Linked DNA regions of Homo sapiens: all the other regions are linked to region 4. The links are contacts of gene promoters, found by promoter capture Hi-C in human tissues and cell types (Jung and others, 2019). All regions are on one chromosome and are shown on one strand. Each heading gives the region's core, a stretch centred on a gene start or on the middle of the fragment in contact. The rest is flanking DNA. Distances are from core to core; before and after follow the strand shown. Region 1 overlaps SHISA9 (shisa family member 9). Region 2 has its middle 46 kb from the start of SNX29-AS3. Region 3 overlaps SHISA9 (shisa family member 9). Region 4 holds the start of SHISA9 (shisa family member 9). Region 5 overlaps SHISA9 (shisa family member 9). Region 6 overlaps SHISA9 (shisa family member 9). Region 7 overlaps SHISA9 (shisa family member 9).

The links. The method cuts DNA at HindIII sites, captures the fragments that hold promoters and counts their contacts. A contact is called where the count stands out against the background at its distance.
Region 1: a contact is called between a fragment that was not itself captured here and the fragment with the promoter of SHISA9 in region 4, in 2 of the 25 tissues and cell types used here (H1 embryonic stem cells and dorsolateral prefrontal cortex).
Region 2: a contact is called between a fragment that was not itself captured here and the fragment with the promoter of SHISA9 in region 4, in 2 of the 25 tissues and cell types used here (dorsolateral prefrontal cortex and mesenchymal stem cells).
Region 3: a fragment that was not itself captured here is called in contact with the fragment with the promoter of SHISA9 in region 4 in 3 of the 25 tissues and cell types used here (bladder, dorsolateral prefrontal cortex and thymus).
Region 5: a contact is called between a fragment that was not itself captured here and the fragment with the promoter of SHISA9 in region 4, in 2 of the 25 tissues and cell types used here (H1 embryonic stem cells and mesendoderm cells).
Region 6: a contact is called between a fragment that was not itself captured here and the fragment with the promoter of SHISA9 in region 4, in 8 of the 25 tissues and cell types used here (H1 embryonic stem cells, bladder, dorsolateral prefrontal cortex and 5 more).
Region 7: a fragment that was not itself captured here is called in contact with the fragment with the promoter of SHISA9 in region 4 in 5 of the 25 tissues and cell types used here (dorsolateral prefrontal cortex, heart right ventricle, liver and 2 more).

The regions. Positions count from the first base shown.
Region 1 is chr16:13,090,416-13,093,550 of GRCh38, reverse strand. The region is part of intron 2 of SHISA9 (shisa family member 9); the gene reads right to left. Among named protein-coding and RNA genes, the nearest start is that of SHISA9, 190 kb to the right of the region's middle. RefSeq lists a silencer at 850-1,009. The HindIII fragment of the contact is 4,168 bases long and covers 1-3,135 here.
Region 2 is chr16:12,655,934-12,659,221 of GRCh38, reverse strand. No RefSeq gene overlaps it. Among named protein-coding and RNA genes, the nearest start is that of SNX29-AS3, 46 kb to the right of the region's middle. The HindIII fragment of the contact is 4,296 bases long and covers 1-3,288 here.
Region 3 is chr16:13,136,379-13,139,769 of GRCh38, reverse strand. The region is part of intron 2 of SHISA9 (shisa family member 9); the gene reads right to left. Among named protein-coding and RNA genes, the nearest start is that of SHISA9, 240 kb to the right of the region's middle. The HindIII fragment of the contact is 4,939 bases long and covers 1-3,391 here.
Region 4 is chr16:12,899,419-12,902,923 of GRCh38, reverse strand. It overlaps SHISA9 (shisa family member 9), which reads right to left and starts at 1,326. Exons shown (of 5, transcript NM_001145204.3): 1 at 297-1,326. The coding sequence starts at 859. The HindIII fragment of the contact is 6,671 bases long and covers 1-3,505 here.
Region 5 is chr16:13,072,482-13,075,825 of GRCh38, reverse strand. The region is part of intron 2 of SHISA9 (shisa family member 9); the gene reads right to left. Among named protein-coding and RNA genes, the nearest start is that of SHISA9, 170 kb to the right of the region's middle. The HindIII fragment of the contact is 4,813 bases long and covers 1-3,344 here.
Region 6 is chr16:13,154,459-13,157,578 of GRCh38, reverse strand. All of the region lies in intron 2 of SHISA9 (shisa family member 9), which reads right to left. Among named protein-coding and RNA genes, the nearest start is that of SHISA9, 250 kb to the right of the region's middle. The HindIII fragment of the contact is 6,009 bases long and covers 1-3,120 here.
Region 7 is chr16:13,110,248-13,113,311 of GRCh38, reverse strand. All of the region lies in intron 2 of SHISA9 (shisa family member 9), which reads right to left. Among named protein-coding and RNA genes, the nearest start is that of SHISA9, 210 kb to the right of the region's middle. The HindIII fragment of the contact is 4,488 bases long and covers 1-3,064 here.

The DNA.
Region 1 (3,135 bases), core at 102-2,601, 190 kb before region 4:
CATATGCACATGATACCTTGAATTTCAATAGTTAAGTCACTTCTTGCAGGTCCTTATCTGGAAATCCATGACAGCCAGTGTTCATGAAAACTCCTCTTGTATGGACCCTTTGTGCATTATGCAGTTAATCCCATCTAAATCCCTGCAAGATAAGTCTTATCATCAATCCCACTTTATAGATGAACAAACTGAGGCTCAAAGATGGACAGCAACTGGACCAAGATCACCAACTAGTAAGTGGCAGAGATGGGCTTTTCTTAACCCAACAGTTATAGTGACAGGCAGGATCTACGATAGAAGTTTCTCTCATCTAAGTCATCTTGTCACCCTAGGTTGAAGTAAAGCCCTGGGCCAAGACTCAGAACAAGAGGGGTGCAGCCACTTGAACTGGCTGCCCCATGTTCCTCACCCTTTCCAACTCCTCTGCTGCCAACAGAACCCAGGACTCTATGCCCCCGGGAAACTTCAAAGCTATATTCCTTTCCATACCAGATCAGTATTTCCACAAATGGGTTTTGGTGTCAAAAAGTGTTAGGTTCATATCACATCTCTAATGGTCATATAATGTTTAAAAGTCTGATTCTCAATTACGGCTTTCCAAGATGGCCGAATAGGAACAGCTCTGGTCTGCAGCTCCCAGCATGACAGACGCAGAAGATGGGTGATTTCTGCATTTCCAACTGAGGTACCTGGTTCGTCTCACTGGGACTGGTCAGACAGTGGGTGGAGACCAAGGAGGGCAAGCTGAAGCAGGGCGGAGCGTCACCTCACCCAAGAAGCACAAGGGGTTGGGGGATTTCCCTCTCCTAGCCAAGGGAAGCCACAACAGACTACCTGGAAAAACGGGACACTCCCTGCCCAAATACTGTGCTTTTCCCAAGGTCTTAGCAACTGGCAGACAAGGTGATTCTCTCCTGTGCCTGGCTTGGCAGGTCCCATGCCCATGGAGCCTTGCTCAATGCTAGCGCAGCCGTCTGAGATCGAAATGTGAGGTGGCAGCCTGGCTGGGAGAGAGGCGTCCACAATTGCTGAGGCTTGAGTAGGTAAACAAAGTGGCCAGGAAGCTCGAACTGGACGGAGCCCACCACAGCTCAACAAGGCCTACTGCCTCTAGATTCCACCTCTGTGGGCAGGGCATAGCTGAACAAAAGGCAGCAGACAACTTCTGCAGACTTAAACATCCCTGTCTGACAGCTCTGAAGAGAGCAGTGGTTCTCCAGCATGGAGTTTGAGCTCTGAGAACAGACAGACTGCATCCTCAAGTGGGTCCCCGACTCCCATGTAGCCTAACTGGGAGACACCTCCCAGCAGGGGCCAACAGACACCTCATATAGGTGGCTGCCCCTCTCGGACGAAGCTTCCAGAGTAAGGATCAGGCAGCAATATTTGCTGTTCTGCAATATTTGCTGTTCTTCAGCCTCTGGTGGTGATACCCAGGCAAACAGGGTCTGGAGTGGAATTCCAGCAAACTCCAACAGACCTGCAGCTGAGGGACCTGACTGTTAGAAGGAAACTAACAAACTGAAAGGAATAGCATCAACATCAACAAAAAGGTCATCTACACCAGAACCCCATCTGTAGGTCACCAACATCAAAGACCAAAGGTAGGTAAAACCACATAGATGGGGAGAAACCAGAGCAGAAAAGCTGAAAATTCTAAAAACCAGAGCGCCTCTTCTCCTCCAAAGGATCGCAGTTCCTAGCGAGCAACGGAACAAAGCTGGATGGAGAATGACTTTGACAAGTTGACAGAAGTAGGCTTCAGAAGGTCGGTAGTAACAAACTTCTCCGAGCTAAAGGAGGATGTGTGAACCCATTGCAAGGAAGCTAAAAACCTTGAAAAAAGATTAGACGAATGGCTAACTAGAATAAACAGTGTAGAGAAGACTTTAAATAACCTGATGGAGCTGAAAACCATGGCATGAGAACTTCGTGACACATGCACAAGCTTCAGTAGCTGATTCGATCAAGTGGAAGAAAGGGTATCAGTGATTGAAGATCAAATTAATGAAATAAAGTGAGAAGAGAAGTTTAGAGAAAAAATTGTAAAAAGAAATGAACAAAGCCTCCAAGGAATATGGGACTACATGAAAAGATCAAATCTACATTTGATTGGCATACCTGAAAGTGATGGGGAGAATGCAACCAAGTTGGAAAACACTCTTCAGGATATTATCCAGGAGAACTCCCCCAACCTAGCAAGGCAGGCCAACATTCAAATTCAGGAAATACAAAGAACACCACAAAGATACTCGTCGAGAAGAGCAACCCCAAGACACATAATTGTCAGATTCACCAAGGTTGAAATGAAGGAAAAAGTGTTAAGGGCAGCCAGAGAGAAAGGTCGAGTTACCCACAAAGGGAAGCCCATCAGACTAACAGTGGATCTCTCAGCAGAAACCGTGCAAGCCAGAAGAGAGTGGGGGCCAATATTCAACATTCTTAAAGAAAAGAATTTTCAACCCAGAATTTTATATCCAGCCAAACTAAGCTTCATAAATGAAGGAGAAATAAAATCCTTTACAGACAAGCCAATGCTCAGAGATTTTGTCACCACCAGGCCTGCCTTACAAGGGTTTTGAAGGAAGCACTAAATAAACATGGAAAGAAACAACTGGTACCAGCCACTGCAAAAACATGCCAAGTTGTAAAGACCATCAATGCTATGAAGAAACTGCATCAATTAACAGGCAAAACAACCAGCGAACATCATAATGACAGGATCAAATTCACACATAACAATATTAACCTTAAACGTAAATGGGCTAAATGCCCCAATTAAAAGACACAGACTTGGACAAAGAATCAAGACCCATCTGTGTGCTGTATTCAAGAGACCCATTTCACGTGCAACGATGCACATAGGCTCAAAATAGAGGGGTGGAAGAAGATCTATCAAGCAAATGGAAAGCAAAAAAACAGCAGGAGTTGCAATCCTAGCCTCTCATAAAACAGACTTTAAACCAACAAAGATCAAAAGAGACAAAAAGACCATTACATAATGGTAAAGGGATCAATTAAACAAGAAGAGCTAACTATCCTAAATATATATGCACCCAATACAGGAGCACCCAGATTCATAAAGCAAGTCCTTAGAGACCTACAAAGAGATGTCGACTCCCACATAATAATAAT
Region 2 (3,288 bases), core at 692-3,191, 240 kb after region 4:
CACTGAACAAATACTGTACAGTAACCAAAGCAGGTGAGCCAGACAAGAGAGTGACTCTAGACTGAAGGTTCTATGTGAATGTAAAAGAGATGGCTTGAAATACAGGCATGAAACTCAGGAAACACTGAAAACTGCATCATGGGAGTGCAGCCCAGGGACGTCATGGGAATGAATAAGATTCCTGGGAAAATCTAGCAGCACTGCAAGATACCTAAGGACAGAAAGACAGGAAAGATGGAAGTCACAGAAGGAGTAAAAGGGAATCTGAAAACTCCAGGCTTGTGCACCCTGAACAAAAAAGGAATTGACTCCAGCTGGAGTTGAGTGGTTTAAGCCCCTATAGTCCAAACTTCCTACAGATAACTTTATAGACGAAAAGACCTACCTGGCGATTCAGAGTGAAGACATGCAAGGAACTCAAAACCTTGGTGAGTCTCTCCTCCCCTCCACACTGGTCTGAGGGCAAACCACAATTGCAAAGCAGCACACCAGAGGTCAATAAAGTTTTTCTCAAAATTCACTTTTTTTTTTTTTTTTTTGACACGAGGTCCCGCTCTGTTGTCCAGGCTGGAGTGCAGTGGCTTAATCTCAGCACATGAGAATCTCCACCTCCCAGGTTCAAGCAGTCCTCCTGCCTCGGCCTCCCAAGTAGCTGGGACCAAAGGCATGCACCACCACACCCAGCTAATTTTTGTATTTTTGGTAGATGGAGTTTCGCCATGTTGCTCAGGCTGGCCTCAAACTGCTGGGCTCAAGTGACTCACCTGCCTTGGCCTCCCAAAGTGCTAGTGTTAACAGGCATGAACCACCAGGCCTGGCCTAACATTCACTGTGTATTAGACCAGAGATACCAGAGGAAGAAGCCTGGGTCACTGGGGAGTGAGGAGTCCTAGCAGGGAGACAAGCCAGGGATAGGAAGCCTCTGATTTGTATATGAGCGTCACACAGATCTCTTGCTTACCCCCAAAGCATGCATGAGCAGGACAGACAGGGCAACAGAGGCTTAAAGAATTGAACCAAGATTTGAATCACTGCCCAGAGGAAGCAATAGAAAGCTTACCACTGGAGTCTGATCAAGTTAATTGCCTGCAAAAGCCTCAACATTCTTCAGAAGAATATAACTGAATCCTAGTTCTCCACAATGTAATATCCACAATCCCCAGCATACAACCCAAAATTGCTTGACATACAACAAAAGCAACAACAGAAAAAAGAAAAGAAAATACATCACTCTCAAAGGATAAAACAGTCCTAAGATGCCCCAGATGTTGGAATTATCACTGCAGGAGAACAGAGCAGCTCCTATAACAAAGCTTTATAAAGTAAAGGAAAATATACTTAGTATGAATGAAAAGAAATGATATCTCCTAGAACATAGAAAAAATCAAATGAAAATTTCAGAACTGAAAAATATAACATCTGAAATTTTAAAACTTACTGGATGGGCTTAATAGCAGAATGGAGAAGAGAGAAAAGAGTCAGGAAACATGAAGACAGATCAGTAGAAAGTATTCATTCTAAAATACAAAGACAAAAAGGATTTTATTAAGCAAAGCTTCAGGACCCTATATCAAAAGTCTAAAGTACAGGTGATGAGTACCAGAAAGGAAAGAAAGAATGGGCCCCCAAAAATTTGGAAAAATGCTAGCCAACAACTTCTCATATTTTGTGAAATTTTTTAAAAAATTAAATTCTCTATGCTCAACAAACAGAAAACGTGAGTCACGAAGCAAAATATTACTAAATTGGACTTTATTATAAAGATTTTGCTCTTCAGTGATATTAGAAAATGGGAGGCAAGGCTGGAAAAATAAATTGCAGCACATTTATCAGATAAAGGGCTTGTATCCAAAATACATAAAGAACTGCAGCCTGGGCAACATAGCCATATCTCCAACTCCTGACCTCAAGTGATCCACCCACCTTGGCTTCCTAAAGTGTTGGGATTACAGGTGTGAGCCTCCATGCCCAGCCGAACCCTTCTTTTTAGAGACCAGAATGGAGGGAATGGAAAGGCCAATGAGGCTAGGGCAGTGGATGGAGACGTGGGATAATGTAATCGATCCATTGTTTGATAGGCGCATGTCCATTTCCTGCTAATTCCTCTCTCAGAGGCACCCTGTGCTGTGTTTCATTGTGAAGCAGGTGAGGCTTTCTGGATTTATGCACAGTTCGCCTTGGTCATGTCAGGAAAGAGCCACCATCTGTATAGAACGGGTGACATCTGCCTTTCACGGAATCCCTGCCTCTGGGCAGACCATATGGATGTGTTGTAGGCACTGAAGGAGAGCGGATCCAGGATGTAGCCTGTTACTGTGATGTTTGAAAGTCTCTCCTTGGTCTTCCAAGCTGTCCTTTCAAGCTTCCACAAAAAGAGCTAATGATTTCATCTCATAGTATTTTTGAAATACTCTGGATTTGCTCTCTTAAGCTACCAAGGAGGCCGGGTGCAGTGGCTCACACCTGTAATCCCAGCACTTTGGGAGGCCAAGTCAGGTGGATCACTTGAGGTCGGGAGTTTGAGACCAGCCTGGCCAACATGGTGAAACCCCGTCTCTACCAAAAATAGAAAAATTGACCAGGCGTGGTGGCACATGCCTGTAGTCCCAGCTACTCGGGAGGCTGAGGCAGGAGAATCACTTGAACCCAGGAGGCAGAGGTTGCAGTGAGCCAAGATCATGCCACAGCACTCCAGCCTGGACAAAAGTGAGTGAGACTCCATCTAAAAAATAAAATAAAATAATGAGTAATTAATAAAAAGCTACCAAGGCAGGTTTTTGGCTCAGTGGTGCAGTAGCTCACACCTATAATCCCAGCACTTTGGGATTCTGAGAGGGGAGGATTGCTTGAGTTCAAGACAAGCCTAGGCAACATAGTGAGACCACCCCTCCCATCTCTACAAATATAAAAAGTTAGCTAGGCATGGTGACACACATCTGTAGTCCTAGCTACTTGGGAGGCTGAGATGGGAGGATCGCTTGAGCCCAGGAGGTCAAGACTACAGTGAGCTGTGATCATGCCACTGCACTCCAGCCTGGGTAACAAAGCAAGACCCTGTCTCTGAAAAAAAAAGGAAGAAAAAAAAAAAGGCTACCAAACTGCAATATCACACCCTTAAACCACATATTTTGGTGTGAAAAACTGTTAAAGTGACATGGTATTGTATTTACCCTATAGGTTCGGGTTTTCCTGTTCTGTTATGTCGTTGTGGGATGAAATCCAACATGATACCCTGAGAGCAGGAGCAGTGTCTTCATAGCCACTGTGTCCTCATTGCCTGGCCTGGGG
Region 3 (3,391 bases), core at 97-2,596, 240 kb before region 4:
GTTTACTCATATGAACCTTAAATTGTTAGGAACAAAATGTCCACCTCAGATGGTCAATTCCAGTGGTTTGGAAACTGAATTTTACGAAATCTGGAATTCTGAAGAATTGTTTCCAAGACAGGGAATGCGGAGGAGACTCGTGCTACAGACCATGCCATGCACACTTCAACTAGGGCAACTCTGTTTATAGCAGGCTTCCATATTGGCACTCCACAGGAAATCCTTAAGGGAGTGGTTCTACTTTACCGATAAAGTAAAGGAAGGGATGAAGGGAGAAAAGAAAGACAGGAAGGAAGGAAGAGAGAGAGAGAAAGAGGGAGAGGAAGAGGAAGAGAAGAAGGAAGGAAGGAAGGAAGGAAGGAAGGAAGGAAGGAAAGAAGGAAGGGAGGGACGGAGGGAGGGAGGGAGGGGAGGGAGGGAAGGGGTGTGAAGAAAGGAAAAGCAAGTGAGAGGAGGGGATGGAGAAAGTTAAAAAAAGAGGGAAGAAGGAAGAGATAGAGGAAGGGAATTAGAAAGAAAAGAAAGATGGCAAGAAGAAAGGAAGGGAGTGAGGGAAGGGAGGGAGGGAGATAATAGAGGGAATAAAGTTAAGGAAGAGAAATGAAGAAGTGAAGAAACAAATTACAAATAAAACCCAACCCTGCAATGAGAAAACAGTCAGAAAGGATGATATTTCTGAGGCCACAGTGGAAGGTAATGGCACTGTAGTGGTGACAACTTCATTCCTCTAATTCGCAACTTAGTACCCCACGTTTGAGGATAGGAGTTGCATCAGCTACATCTTCCTCCCCTCCATCCCGCAATGCTTCAGGGTGTCCTAATAGATGCTCCAAGCCCAAGATGTCCAATGAATCAAAAAGCAAAGGTAAAGGTGGGTACCATGGAATTAAAAACTGCAAATAAGGGGTCAGACACTCTGGCCATGTCAGGAGCCATGAATCCTACAAAAAAAAAATAATAAAAGTTTCCAAATAGGAATCCTCATAACATGCTCACATGAATGGGGGAAAATGACTCATAGGGCAGCAATTCTTTGCATGTGAACAAGAGATGATATGTGTGGAACACTCTAGTCCTCCTAAACGGCTCAAAGACTCCCCTTGTGAGACATCCATCCATAATTGTGAACCACTAAGGAAAATCTTTCTTCAAGAGTCTACAAAAGACAACTTGAATGAGGCTGAGAGGAGGGGTAGTTCGTGGAGTCTAAGGTCTGGGGGCTGCCATATCTGTTCATTCAATTTATATTTTCTGAGAATCTCCTATATGCCAGGCAGTGTCATAGGAGATGAATCTACAGTGATGAAGATGCCGCCCCTGTTATCAAAAGCTTAAGGTCTAAAAAGTAGCCATCCTGATTATAATAGTGTGATAAGGATGAAACAGTGTAGGAGAAGGACACTGTGGAAAATGTAAGCACCTATTCTAGGAAAGGAAGGTCAAAGAAGAGTTCCTGGACCATTGGTCTCAAGTTCCAATCTATGAGTTACCCACACATTTTATTAAAATGCAGCTTCTGATTCAGTTGCTCTGGGATGAGGCCTCAGATTTTGCATTTCCATCAGGCTCTCAGATGCTGCTGCTGTTGCTAGTCCACAGAACACAGGTAGAGAAGCAAAGTCCTAGAGCACAGCCACTCAAAATATAGCCCAGGGACTAGCGGCATCACCATCACTTTTGGGTGTGCATAAATGCAAATTCTCAGGCTTTACCCCAGACCCACCGAGTCAGAATCTCTGGAGCTAAAGCCCAGAAATCTATTTTACCAAATTATCTGTGTGAACTATCATTCATGTAACATCTGAGATGCAGCATCCTTGGGAATCTACTTGCGCTTAGTCCTGAAGAAAAATACGAGTTAGCCATGAAAACAGAGTGAGAAAATGGCATTTCAGGCAAAGAAACAGCTGGACAAAGCCATAGGAAGAGGAATGAACTGGGGCCCAGGAATAGTTAGATGCAGCATGCATGATCAAAGAAATGAGGCAGGGAACATGATTAAAGATTTGATCCTCCAGCCAGGTGCGGTGGCTCATGCCTGTAATCCCAGCACTTTGGGAGGCTGAAGTGGGCAGATCACAAGGTTAAGAGATCAAGACCATCCTGGCCAACATGGTGAAACCCCATCTCTACTAAAAATACAAAAATTAGCTGGGCGTGGTGGCATGCACCTGTAGTCCCAGCTATTCGAGAGGCTGAGACAGAAGAATCACTTGAACCCGGGAGGCGGACGTTGCAGTGAGCCGAGATCTCACCACTGCACTCCAGCCTGGTAACAGATTGAGACTCTGTCTCAAAAAAAAAAAAATAAAAAGATTAGATCCTCCGTTATGGGCTCTCTAACGAGCCTCCCTAGTGTGATCAATTCAACACTATTTATGCTAATAGATGTAATAAGTGAGTTGATCTTTTACTTATCTCAACTTGGGGGTCACTCATTCATTTTCCAGGTTTCTTGAGACATATTTTTTCATGAACTCAGACTCCAATCACTACTGCCGTATTAGGATCCCCACACAACAGCATCTATTATGGATTCCACTATCTGCCTCCCATTTCAGAGCCAACAAATATATTTCATCCAACTCCATCTGGCCAGATACAGAAGGTTAGGATTGTTGCCAAGGCAAAACTGGACTTGACTTCTCACAAGCTGAGACAGGCTTGAAAACTCCTGAAAGGGAAAGGATACATTCTGTTGAAATGCCATGGAGAATGCAAGGTGGTATCATGTGTGTCATCACTTCCTAATTCTACTCGGAGACAGACATCAATAATTAATCCTTGTTCTGTTTCCTGCAGAACCTACAAGCTTTTGCAGAAACCTTCTCAATCTAACTCCTTAGGAACCTGCCAATGACCGAGAAGAGCTTGCATCTAAGAGGAAATCCTTCTCATCTTTTAACCCATCTTTCAATGAGACATTAGTCAAAAAAAAATTTTACTGGGCATAGGAGGGAACAAAAGGCTGCCGTAATTTTTCCACATGGTGTGGACTTATCAGTAGAAAGGACTCTTATTCCAGAGTCATCAGGTGAAGTGATCAGACTACCTATTAAGGAAGGAAATTGGCTGGGCATGGTGGCTCACGCCTGTAATCCCAGAACTTTGGGAGGCCAAGGCAGGTGGATCACCTGAGGTCAGGAGTTTGAGACCAGCCCAGCCAACATAGTGAAACCCCTTCTCTACTAAAAACACAAAAAATCAGCCGGGAGTGGTGATGGGCACCTGTAATCCCAGCTAGTCAGGAGGCTGAGGCAGGAGAATCACTTGAACCTGGGAGGTGGAGGTTGCAGTGAGTCGAGATTACACCATTGCATTCCAGCCTGGGCAACAAGAGCGAAACTCCAAAAAAAAAAAAAAAAAAAAAAAAGAAGGAAACTGTATATTT
Region 4 (3,505 bases), core at 77-2,576:
AAGTCCGCCTCAGTCACCAGCGGGAGGAGGCGGCCAGAGGGTGAGGGAGCAGAGTCACACACACACACACACACGCTCACACACACACGAACACGCTCAGACCCACACCTGTGCTGAGCCCAGCGCCCCTTCTCCGTGTTCCAAGCCGAAGTTGGCTTCCCGGTGACATCCCCCAGCGGAGAGGCTGGGATGCGGGGAGCGGGGACCGTGGGGAGCGCCATTGCCTGGGGGAAGGTGGGGAGGAGAGAGCAGGGAGAGCGAAGCCCCGAGGGGAGGGCGAAGGGGAGGCAGCCCACCTGGACATGTGCTCCCTTTGGGGCCGGTGCGCTTTCTCCAGCCCCAGCTTGGTGAAGATGCCCACGAGCACCATGACGGCCACCACCCCGCAGATGATGTAGACGATCAGGTTGGTCTTGTCCTTGGTGGGGTCGTGCAAGGGGTCGTCCTTGCGGGCGGGGGGCTTGCCGGTGTTGAGCCAGAGCGGCGTGTCGTAGTTGGTGCAGGTGCTTTGGTTCAGTCGCCGCTTCTTAAACGTGCAGCAGAACCGGAAGCCACAAGTCCCGCAGCAGAAGATGAAGTCGCCCGAGCTGCAGTTGAACGGCGGGTCCCACTGGCCCATGACATCGAAGTAGCCCCGGCAGAAGTCCGGCGTGGGCGCCCGGGTCGGGGGCGCGTCCGATGCCTCAGCGCCCTCGCTGGCCTCTCCGGAGGCGGCCCCGGAGCGGTTGCCCCCCGCCAGCAGCAACACGCCGCCCAGTTGCGCCAGCTGCCCGTGTCCCGCTCGCTCCTGCGCCCGGCACACGCGGGCGCACAGCTCGGTGAGGAAGCAACCGAGGAGCAGCCGAAGGACGCGGCGCATGGTGTCTCCCAGCCCGGGCTCGGCCGCTCGGCCGCCGCTGGAGCCTCTGCGGCCGCCTCTCGAGGCGCGGCCGAAGCTGCCGAGGCTGCTGCCGGGAGCTGCGAGCCGCCGCGGGCCGCACATGCAGGGAGCGGCGCGGGGCGCTCGGTGGTCGGCGGCCACTGCGCTCGGCTCAGCCCGCGTTCGCCTCAGCCCGCGTTCGCCTCCAGCGCGCCGCGCGCCGAGGGGCCGGCCGGGGAGGAGCGCGCCCGGCCGGGCGGGGGGAGGATGAGCGGGGTCAAGCGCGGGGTGCAGGTCCGGCCGGCCACTGGGTGAGGCGGGGGTGGAGAGCAGAGGAGAATCGGGCTGGCAGCGCCTAGCCTTGGCCGGCAGCCCCGGACTGGCCGCCCCTAGCCCTCTCGCAGTATCCCTCTCACCTCACCAGCTCGCCAAGTGCGCTGAAGAGAGCGAAGCGACACTTGTGGAATGAAGGGAGGGCAGGAGGGAAGGGGGAGGGGGAGGAGGGCGGGCAGAGGAGGCGCGGGTGGGGGGGGGCGGGCGCGAGCTCTAGAGGGGCGGGGGCGCGGGGAAGAGGTGACTAGAGCGGGAGCTAGCTGGGGGGCGTGCAGAGCTGAGCCAGGCGAGCGGACGGGGAGGAGCGAGCTCGGCAGCAGCCGAGGCTAGAGGAGCCGCTCGGATTTCCAGGCAGGTGGAAAACCGCGGCAGGACCTCCCGCGCCCTCTCTGGGTAGGAGGCGCGGCTCAGCCCTGTCCAGAGCGCAGAGGCGGCTCAGCTCGTAGCTTTTTCACCGGTGCGTGTGCAGGAGCGGCGGCCGAAATCTGTGCATCAGGGGAAGGATGACTCGGAGAGGATGGGGACAGACTAAATGGCTTTCACTCCAAGACAGACTGGGTGCAGTCTGGTCAGGATCGCCCCTCCCAGGCGTGCGGGGCCTCCTTGCCCTTCCCGGCTGCGCCCTCCAGCCCTGAGCGCAACCCGCATGGCTCAACTCTCTGGGCCCAAGCAAGGACCCAGGCGGAGCTGGGAAGGACAGGTGGCAAGCCCCTGAGCCAGGGATAAGCACCCTCCGGGGGAGAGGGGCTCGGGATGAACGAATCAAAGAAGGTCGGGGGTAAGAGGGGACAGCCGAACAAGGCCGAGGCTATGGCGTGTCCTGGAAGGTCTTTCCTTGGAAGTCCCCCAGCCTCTCGAACCTGCCGCTTTCTGTCCCTCTTCGCCCCCGCAGCGTTTTCTGCGCTCCACAGGAGGGAACACCGCGGCGCCGCCTCTGCGCTCCCGGATCTGGCGCAGCGCAAGGCCTGGGCACCCAGCCTCAGCCACCCTCCCGGACCTGGAGCCCGCGCATCGGTCTCTGGAGCTGGCTGGCCCCTGTCCCCACGGATCCCCCCGGAAATCCTCACCGGGGGCTGCAGAGCTCTGCCTTGCTTCCTCAGCTTCCAGCCTCCCGTCTCCTCTGTGTTTCCAAATCTGCCCTCTCTCTCCTAGCGAATTCCAGCTCCCCGGAGGCCCTCTCTCATTTCTCCCACCTCTTTCTCTCCTCTGCTTGAATTTGACTCCAGTAGCCCCAAAACAGGATTTGCACCAAAGCTGCTACACCAAATTTAGATCTCCCCACGCCCCGGCGTTTTGTTTTTTAATTGCATTAACTAAGTATACACTTTGCAGGCTGCTAGGCGATTTGCAAGGAGATAATGTTTCCACAACCCTCCTCTCCACTTGGCTGCAGTCAAGGGCTTCTCAGGGCATCTTCAGAGAACGAAAAGTTGGGCGACATGTAAAATGGTTTACTAGGGTCCCCTGAATTGAGAAAGGGTGGGAGGATTTATTGGGACTCTGTTGCAAGTTTTCTCCAAATGAGAAGTTTGGCTAATCGCCCCTTCTCTTTGAAAAAAAAAGTCACATTTTGATGTTTCAAAAAAGATTTGCAAACACACAGCAAGACATTGACAGGGCATACCCAGGAGTATTATATTCCAAACCCATCTGGGGAAGGTATGAACACGTTTAATCCAGATTCACCAGATTCATTATAATAGAATCCCCAAAATAGGAGAGTATGGAAAGTCTGTCATGACTGGCAACCCACGCCCACCACCACCTTGTGAGTCCTACAAACACAAGCACTGGTGTGTGAGAGCTAATGAGAGCTGACATTTATTCAGTGCCTGCAACATACTCACTAAGCTTGCTTTTTCTAAAAGCAGCTCCTCAAGAAAGCTTAGAGCAGTGCCCAGCGTATAGCAGACAGTCTGGAAATATTTGCTGAACCACCGAGTGACTGGTTTCATGTAACTCTCTCTCCCTTAGGTAATAGTACCAGGCCCACACAACAGAGGGAGAGAATGAGCCCCAAAGCAGTTAAACCAGTTGCCCAAGTAGCTCTGCCAAATGAGTGCCAGAATTGACATTTGACCCAAGAAATTTGAGTCCAGAAACTGCCCTCCAGCCACTACATGAAATAGGCCTCCAAACTTTCTGTCTACCTCCTACTATATTATGTATTTGCGTTTTCGTCTGTTTGCCTGCACTGAGATGTGAACTGTGTAATGGAGAGGGCCTCGACTCCCATACCATGTCCCCAGCCCCTAGAACCCAGGCATACGGAGCTGCCTTGCGGGTCCATGGCTGCGCCCTCCAGCCCTGTGC
Region 5 (3,344 bases), core at 787-3,286, 170 kb before region 4:
AGAAACACTGAGTTAGACACATCCTGCTTCTGTCTTACCAGCTGTGTGATCTTTATCAGGCTACTTTTTCTGCTGGCCTACTTCATCTTCTCTAAAATGTGAATCAATAGTACCTTCAGAATAGACATTTTACGAAGCTTAGCTATGATAATATGTGAAGCGCCTTGCATAGAGGAGATGAACAATGCCACCAATAGATATTATGAATGGAATGGGCCGCTCCTGCTCAGCAAATCCAGAAAGCCTTAGGTTGAGTTTTCAGAACGAGAAGGATCCCCTGGGGAGCCCACGACCCTAGCTGACCATTCCTCCCAGCCTGCTGCGTCTTCCCGTCTTCCTGTCTCTTGCAGGCAGGAGGTGCACCAGGACAACTTGGATTCAAAAGACCCTCCCACGGGTTCAAGGCATGATGACGTACTCAGGATCCCTTGGCTTCGGGGCTCAGGGAGCCATGCAAGCTCCTCCTGCCAGCCAGCCTCTCTGTCTCTGGAGGGGCTGACACCAGGTGCTAGAGATCACAACATGGTGAATAATGGAAACTTCCCAAGTATGTAATTATGCAGCATGTTGACTTCATTATGCTATCCAAGCAGATGATTAGGAAATTCCCATGTCCCTGCTCTGCTTCCACAGTGGTCCTACCTCCCAGATGGGAGTTGGGTAGCTGAGCCTCATGCCTGTGGACTCTGCTAATCTCACAGCCAGGCCCCAATACTTTATACAGTGTGCTGGGAGCACTTATGGTAGGGGGCAGATATAGGGTCCTAACTGGGTACAATCATCTCTACCATAAACTGGTTCACTTTGTTCTCCTGCCAACTGCAAAGAAGCAGAGAAAACTAGCAATAAAAATAATAGTAATGGCCAGGCACGGTGGCTCACACCGGTAATCCCAGCACTTTGGGAGGCCGAGACAGGTGGATCACCTGAGGTCAGGAGTTTGAGACCAGCCTGGCCAACTTGGTGAAACCCCATCTCTATTAAATCACAAAAATTAGCCAGGCATGGTGGCATGTGCCTGTAATCCCAGCTGCTCGGGAGGCTGAGGCAGGAGAATCTATCGAACCTGGGAGGCAGAGGTTGCAGTGAGCTGAGATCCCACCATTGCACTCCAGCCTGGGTGACAACAGCAAAACTCCACCTCAAAAAAAAAAAAAGAAAAAGAAAAAGAGAAAAGAAAAGAAAAAAATAATAGTAATGATGATAACAATAAAAATAGCAGTACTCCCACAAGTGTAGGAAGCTGGCTGAAGAATATATCTCATTTGGCTGGGTATGGCCAGACTGCAGAGAGACAAAAGGTATTTACTCACCGTATCCTCAAGGCTAAATGCTCTCAATTTTTAGTGTGCATAGAAACCACCATTAAAAGCCTATTAAAAAAATGTTCATCCTTGGGCTGATCCTTGGGTGGGTAAGAAATGGAGAGGCACAGCTCTGAGCCATTGGTTCTCAAACTTTATTGTGAATCAGAACCACCTGGAGGGCTTTGTATTGGTTTTCTGTGGCAACCATAACAAATTTCTACAAACTGTGTGCTTTAAAACAGCAGAAATGGCCAGGCATGGTGGCTCATGCCCGTAATCTCAGCACTTTGGGAGGCCGAGGGGGGTGGATCACCTGAGGTCAGGAGTTCGAGACCATCCTGGCCAACATGGCAAAACTCCATCTCTACCAAAAATACAAAAATTAGCCAGGCGTGATGGCGGGCGCCTGTAATTCCAGCTACTCGGGAGGCTGAGGCAGGAGAATCACTTGAACCTGGGAGGTAGAGGTTGCAGTGAGCCAAGATCACGCCACTGCATTCCAGCCTGGGCAACAGAACAAGACTCTGCACCCCCCACAAAAAAAAAAAACAAAAAAAAAAACGACCAGCAGAAATTTATTCTCACGGTTCTAGAGGCCAGAAGTCTGAAACCAAGGAGTCCACAGACTTGGTTTCTTCTGGACGCGCTGCAGGAGAACCTGTCCCATGCCTCGTTCCTGCTTTCTAAATGTTACCAGCTATCTTTGGCGTTCCTTGGCTTGTATCCGCCTCGTTCCCATTCACATGGCCTTCTCTGTGAATCCTCTCCCCTTTTCTTCTAAGGACACTTGTCATTGGTTTGAGGACTCACCCTTATCCAGGATAACCTCATCTCATAATCTTTACCTTAATAACATCTTCAAAGATCTCTTTGTCCAAATAAGGTCATGGCCACAGGTTCTAGATGGACATGTCTTTTTGCCACCATTTGACTTTGCACTGCAGATTGCCGGGCCCCACATCCAGCATTTCTGACTCACTAGGTCTGAGCTGGGGTCTGAGAATTTGCATTTCTAACAAATTCCCAGGTGATGCTGCTGCTGATGATGCTAGTCCAGGGACCCCACGTGGGAGATCAATGCCCTTGGCAAATACTCCACATCCAAGTGACTTTGTGTTCTGGTAGTTAGCAAGTGCCAGATGTCTACATTGAACAGAACTGTGAAAGATGGCAAAGACTCTTTGCTCCCACTTTTCATCCTCGACCACCTGATAAGTTTCCTACCCTGAGTCCCCAGGGACCTCAATTAATCCTCAAGAAATGATAAGTCCTGTTGTACAAAAAAAAAAAAAAAAAGAGAGAGAGAGAGAGATAGGAGAGAGTTGGGCTTAGCCAGACCTGGCTGTGCATTTTGCTACCTGTGTGAGCTTGGATGAACAATTTCATCCCTCAGAGCCTCAGTTTCCTTCTCTATAAAATGGGAATAAGGGACGAGCATTGTAGCTCACGTCTGTAATCCCAGCACTCTGAAAGGCCAAGACAGGAGGATCACTCAAGCTCAGGAGTTCAAGACCAGCCTGGGCAAAGTAGCAAGACCTTGTCTCAAAACATAAAATAAGGCCAGGGATGGCGGCTCACACCTGTAATCCCAGCAATTTGGGAGGCCGAGGTGGGTGGATCACTTGAGACCAGGAGTTTGAGATCAGCCTGGCCAACATGGTAAAACCCCATCTCTACTAAAAATACAAAAATTAGCTGGGTGTGGTGGCAGGCGCCTGTAATCTCAGCTATTCAGGAGGCTGAGGCAGGAGAATCCCTTGAACCCAGGAGGTGGAGGTTGCAGCGAGCTGAGATCGTGCCACTGCACTCCAGCCTGGGTGACAGAGCAAGACTCCGTCTCAAAAAAAAAAAAAGATTTTACTTTTTTAAAATAAAATAAAATGGAAATAAGACTTTTGACTGACTTGATCATAGGTCTTGAAAGGATTGAATGAGATGATACATGCAAGCGTAGGAGCTGCTAGAACTAAAAATCACAGCAACTCAGCGATTCTGCTCAGTGACCCAGATGGGATGTGTGATGGGCACAAGACAGCA
Region 6 (3,120 bases), core at 174-2,673, 250 kb before region 4:
TACCACATCCTGTTTTAAGTACTTTCCATGTATGAATTCCTTCAATCCTCACGAAAATCTTCGAAAATGGGTATTTTGTGATCTCTGTTTTACTGATGAGAAACTGGGGGACAGAAAGGCTAAGTAACTTGTCCAGTTACAGCAAATAATTGGCAGAGCTGGGATCTGGACCCAGGCATTCAAGTTCCAAAATCTGAGATCTCCCATTCTCTGCTAATCAAGTATTATCATGTATGCAACAGAGCTTTGTGATGCTAAATTGCTTCACATATATTAGTGCGAAGCTTCACACAAACAACTTCCTTAATGCTAGGATAGATGAGAGGCTCTGAAAGGGTTGATTCAAATCTTTCTTATAGCCCAGCACTCAGCACCACATAAAGCATCTTAGTGGGATGGATGGATGGATGGATGGGGGGATGGACGGATGATGGATGGATGAATAAACACGTAAGAAGAAGATTCAGATGACAGCAGGGGAGATGGAAAGGAAAGAGCCATTTGGAACCAAGAAAGAGTGGAACACAGAAACAAAGCTCTAAATAGGAATCCTCTGATGCATACTTGAAAAGCCCTCAGCCAGGTTTCCAAAGGAAATTTGCAAATTGCATTTATATACATTCTATATAAAAAACACTCAGTAAATGTGTTTCTTCTTTCATGCCTTCATCTTTTGATGACGCACATGATGTGGAGAAGCGCAAAGATGAGAGACTACCTGATTATACGTATCCATAGTTAGGAGTGTGCATAGGGTTTGGTGTAACAATGTAATCCCGCAGGTGTGCCTAGCTATTGGTCTGCACAGTTGTGCAAGGAAGTAATTTTTTTTTTTTTTTTTTTTTGAGACGGAGTCTCACTCTGTTGCCCAGGCTGGAGTGTAGTGGCGCGATCTCAGCTTACTGCGAGCTCCACCTCCCAGGTTCACGCCATTCTCCTGCCTCAGCCTCCTGAGTAGCTGGGACTGCAGGCGCCCACCACCATGCCTGCCTAATTTTTTGTATTGTTAGTAGAGACGGGGTTTCACCATGTTAGCCAAGATGGTCTCGATCTCCCGACCTTGTGATCTGCCCACCTCAGGCTCCTAAAGTGCTGGGATTACAGGCGTGAGCCACCATGCCTGGCCAAGGAAGTAATTTTATATGTGTATACAATTGCACCTATCAATGAGTGTTGGCAGGATTGTGTGCATATACGCGTGTACACACAATTAATAATGGGCTAACACTCATTTAGAGTTTACTACATGCCAGGCTCAGTGCTAAGCATGCTGGCAAGTACCACCTCATTTAATCCTCACAGTGGTCATTGATGCACCCAGTTACACCCATGTATATGGCTCTGTCTGAGCTGCGTGTACACGGTTTTCTATTAGGTAAGCACCGGCTCAGACTGGCTGCCAATTTTCTGCTGCTTAACCTAAGCTACATGAAGAATGCCAGGAAGGCACACTTTCCTGGACTAGAAGCAGTAACAGTGAATTAAAAGACAGATCATGAAGTCCCTTCAAAATACCATCCACTTAAGAAACAGCAGACACCCAGCTTGCGTTTTTTTGCTGTGTAAACACATTCCCACCACCCCACTCACTTAAATAAGGCTCCTCCACTTTGGCATCCCCGCAAACACATTTTTTACAGTTTCTTTTTCAAAAACAAGATTGCTCCCTCGGCAACTGTTTCCAAGCACATTCCCTCATTCTGGGAGAGGGAAGAAAAAAAAGCAGAGAAATCCTCTTGTTACTATACAGGGAACATGGAATAGGGGTAGGGGGAGAGGGGGAAGTGGGGAAGAGGCAGAGAAGCAAATAATATCATGGACTTCACCAAATGGAATTAACAAATGTCCCCCACCCCAGCCACGTTTCCCCCAGGCCCAGTAATTGCTAATTAGTTCAAAGGCTGTGGCCTGGGTACCTTGACTAGCACAGTGCCCTACCCCCACCATATGTGCATATGTACGTATGCACACAGACACACACACACACACCACACACACAAACAAACACACTATGAAAGGCCAGAGGCCATCCCCTGCAGAGCAGTCTGGTAGAGCTAATGAGGAGACTGAAATTATCTCCCTCAGAGGGGTCATCTAGTCAACATCATTTTCTCAACATTATGTTGACTACTTAAGAGCAGCAAAAATAGTCCCAGGGCAGGTGGGGAGGGGTAGGACCCTAGAAGAAAAGAACTAAGCTACCAACTTTTTCCATTTCAATCCATTTCATTCCAATATATGCCTTTAACTCAATAAATAATTATGTTCCATCCAATTCGTTCCATTCTGTGATATCCAAGTATTCCACTCCACATCATTCCAATACATTCCACTCCAATCTATTGCATTCTAAGCCACTCCATCCCATTTAAAGTCCAACTCATCCCATTTGATCCCAGTTCAATCCATTCTGTTCTAATCTACTTCCATTTCATTTCATTGCATTGCAACTCAGCCTCTTCCATTTCAAGCCATTCTGTCCCCAGTTCATTCTACTCCAGTATATTTCATCCCATGTCATTATTTCATTGTCTTCTTAGTCATTTTAACCTATGCCAATAACTCCTACAGGAAGTATTTCATCATCATCTACAATCTGAGCAGCCATGTGTACCATGAGTGATGTCTAGAGAGGGATGTCTAGAGAGGGACAGAGTTCCCATCTCTGCAGGCTTCTTGGGGAGGCAGAAACAACCCTGACAAAACATCCTGAGAACAACCACGTAACCGTGTCTGCTTTCAAAAGCTCAGAAAAATTAAGATTCACAGCAAAGGAAAGACCCTAAACCTGAAATCCTAACTCTCTACAGGGATCATGAACGAGAAACCAAGACCACTTTGGTGCTCTGCAGAGAGGAGGTAAAAAGCCAGGCTGATTAGTGGTCAAATTCCAGACCTTTTCCTTAGCAGCTGTATTAGACAGGATTATGCTGCTGCATCCAACAGCCTCAAAATCTCAGTAGCTTAAATCAACAAAGTTGTATTGCTCACTCATGATTCTTCTCTCTCATACATTGCCTGGGGTCTCTGTTCCATGCCATCCTCACTGCCAAGAGCCAGTTAACAGAGCAACTTCTATCTGGATCATTACCCATCACCATGATGGAGGGGAAAAGCACA
Region 7 (3,064 bases), core at 151-2,650, 210 kb before region 4:
CCACCATCATCACTGCAACAAATGAAAACACTTTAGTTTAGGTCAGTCTAGGCCTGAAAACCAGGAAGATGTTCTCAATTTTTTTTTTTTTTTTTTTTTTTTGAGATGGAGTCTCATTCTGTTGTCCAGGCTGGAGTACAGCAGGATGATCTTGGCTCACTGCAACCTCTGCCTTCTGGGTTGAAGCGATTCTCGTGCCTCAGCCCTGCGAGTAGCTGGGATTACAGGCATGTACCACCACGCCTGGCTAATTTTTGTATTTTTAATAGAGATGGGGTTTTACCATGTTGGACAGGCTGGTTTCAAACCTCTGACGTCAAGTGATCTGCCTGCCTTGGCCTCCCAAAGTGCTGGGATTACAGGCGTGAGTCACTGCGCCTGGCCTCAAATTTTTTACTCTATTGCCTGCAAGCTGAGATGGAATTAGGGTAAAAAGAGACCCTAATTCTAAGTGACACCGGATTTAGTTTCAGGAAGAATGTCAACCCCACACATTCTTTGGCCATCACAAAGGCGAGTGGGAGCCATGAACCAGAGGGGCCTTTTAATGGCCTCTGAAAGGCAATGCCAAGCACCTCCTCCCAACAGAAACATCACTGAGAAGCATCCAAATAAGAGATGAAGCCACTCACAAACCAGAAGAACCCCTTGACTGGTCTTTAATTTGTTTTGTTAAAAAAAAAAATCACGAACTCATGCTTCTCAATGAGAGGTATTGTATAAAATTGCCTGAGTTTGTTTGCTCAGAATTGACCCCAGGGATTCCAGTTGATTCAGTAGCTGTGGCGTGGGGTCCCAGAATGCATATTTGGAAAATGTTCCTTGAGAGATTCCAAGGCATAAAACCTTGGTAAAGCTCCATAAAACCAATATACTCCAACAGTGTGGCTGGCAAATGAAAATCAAAACCTTTTTTTTCCTTCCTCCCTGCCTCCCTCTTTCCCTTCTTCTTCACTTCCCATCTTTCTTCCTTTTTTCTTGCTTTCTTCCCTCTTTCTCTTATTTTTTCCCTTCTCTCCTCCCTGCTTCAATTCAACAAATATGCATTGAATTTCTCTTATTAACTAAAACACCAAATTGCTCTCTAAACATATCAAGAACTAAAGCTTTATTTGGCATCTGACACAAGTCCTCAGGCCTTTTTCTGACGAATCATGAAACAACCTAGTCCATCTCCTTTAAAAACAAACAAAAAAAAATCCTTACCCTTTTGCTGAGTGGTATGACCACCTGGGCATAAGATAGAAAGGCCTTTGGAGTCATTTTTAGAAGACAAATGGGAAAGAGCAAAGGCCCGAAAGTCAGACAGACCTGGTTTTGAGTCTACTACCTAGCTGTGTGTCTTTAGGCAAGTTTCCTAACCTCTCTGAGCCTCAGTTTTCTCATCTGCAAATACAAGATGAAATGGGTTTCCACGAATGTCTGCCTCAACAGATGATAACTGAAGACCAGATGGCCTCTCACCTATCCAGGAACAATCATAGTCTCCTACCCTCCTTTAAACACAATTCTGCCACACATTTACAGAATCCAAATCTTTGGGGAGAGGCAATTCAATACTGCATTGAATACTTAATATTCAATACTGAATTGCTTGAGGTTACCTGGAATAGGGTAAGATTTGAATTTCATCCACCTGGTTAAATAGAAGCTCCAAAAAGAAAATTATCTTAATAATAAAAAATAAATTTCAAACTAATAGTAATGATAGTTAATGTTTACTCTGGCCTTTCTATGTGCCCACCAATATGCTAAGTGTCTTACACAGATAATCTCAGTTAATCCTCAAAACAGGGAGGTGTTTTCAGTCTGACTTTACAGATGAGAAAACCAAGGCACAGAGGACTTAAATAAATTATTCAATGATCTTCTGCAATCAGGATTTGAACTCAGGGAGTCTGCCATCTGAGATCACCTTAAGAAATAAGGGAAGCTGTTTTTTTGTTTTTGGGTTTTTTTTTTTTTTTGTAATTTGTTTAAGTTCTTTGTAGATTCTGGATACTAGCCCTTTGTCAGATGGATAGATTGCAAAAATTTTCTCCCATTCTGTAAGTTGCCTGTTCACTCTGATGATAGTTTCTTTTGCTGTGCAGAAGCTCTTTAATTTAATTAGATCCCATTTGTCAATTTTGGCTTTTGTTGCCATTGCTTTTGGTGTTTTAGTCATGAAGTCTTTACCCATGCCTATGTCCTGAATGGTATTGCCTAGGTTTTCTCTTAGGGTTTTTATGGCTTTCGGTCTTAAATTTAAGTCTTTAATCCATCTTGAGTTAATTTTTGTATAAGGTGTAAGGAAGGGGTCCAGTTTCAGTTTTCTGCATATGGCTAGCCAGTTTCACATCTCTTGTATGTCTGAGTTTACTTCTTAAGGGCTACAGTTAAATCTTAGAAGCCACGTACTAAATATTTTTTAATACCTTCAGGCCCATGAGGGGAGGATCAGTTACCACTAAGGAGCCCAAGTAACATTGGCATCTGTTCAATTTAAATGAATATCTTGTCTCTTGGACATACAAAGACTCAATTCAGTACCAGCTGTCTGAGACCAAATTCCCCAGCTTTCTCCAGGATAAATGAGGCCATGTGTCACTCTACAATCACAGACTCTCCCTTCATCACAGCTCTTTGGCTGGCTGATTGGCTCACTGACCTGTCACACCATCAGATGACTGTTTCCGAGTCTCCAGCAACCTTTGAGTCTTGCTCAAGTTCCAGCTCTCCTCTCCCTGTACTTTTTTTGGATGTTGAAATAGATGCAAGCAGTCATTGAGGCTGAAAAGGGACCATTTCTCAAACATGACTCATTTGTCCCAGAGAAACAGGGAGCACACATCACATTCTTTTCATACCAGCTCCCAAAGTTCACCTTTCCAGCATGACATTCCTCTTTTCGTCTCTTGCATGAAAAGCCCTTTTCAGCACGGAAACATCGCAGCTGCTTTTACAGCCACTGCATCTGTCCCATCTGGAGAAAAAGCCACGTTCAGACAGCCACAGACGTCTTTGTGTTCCCCCTTCCTTGGGGTTGGCTGTGGCAGGAATGGGAGGCTTGGCAGAATGACTA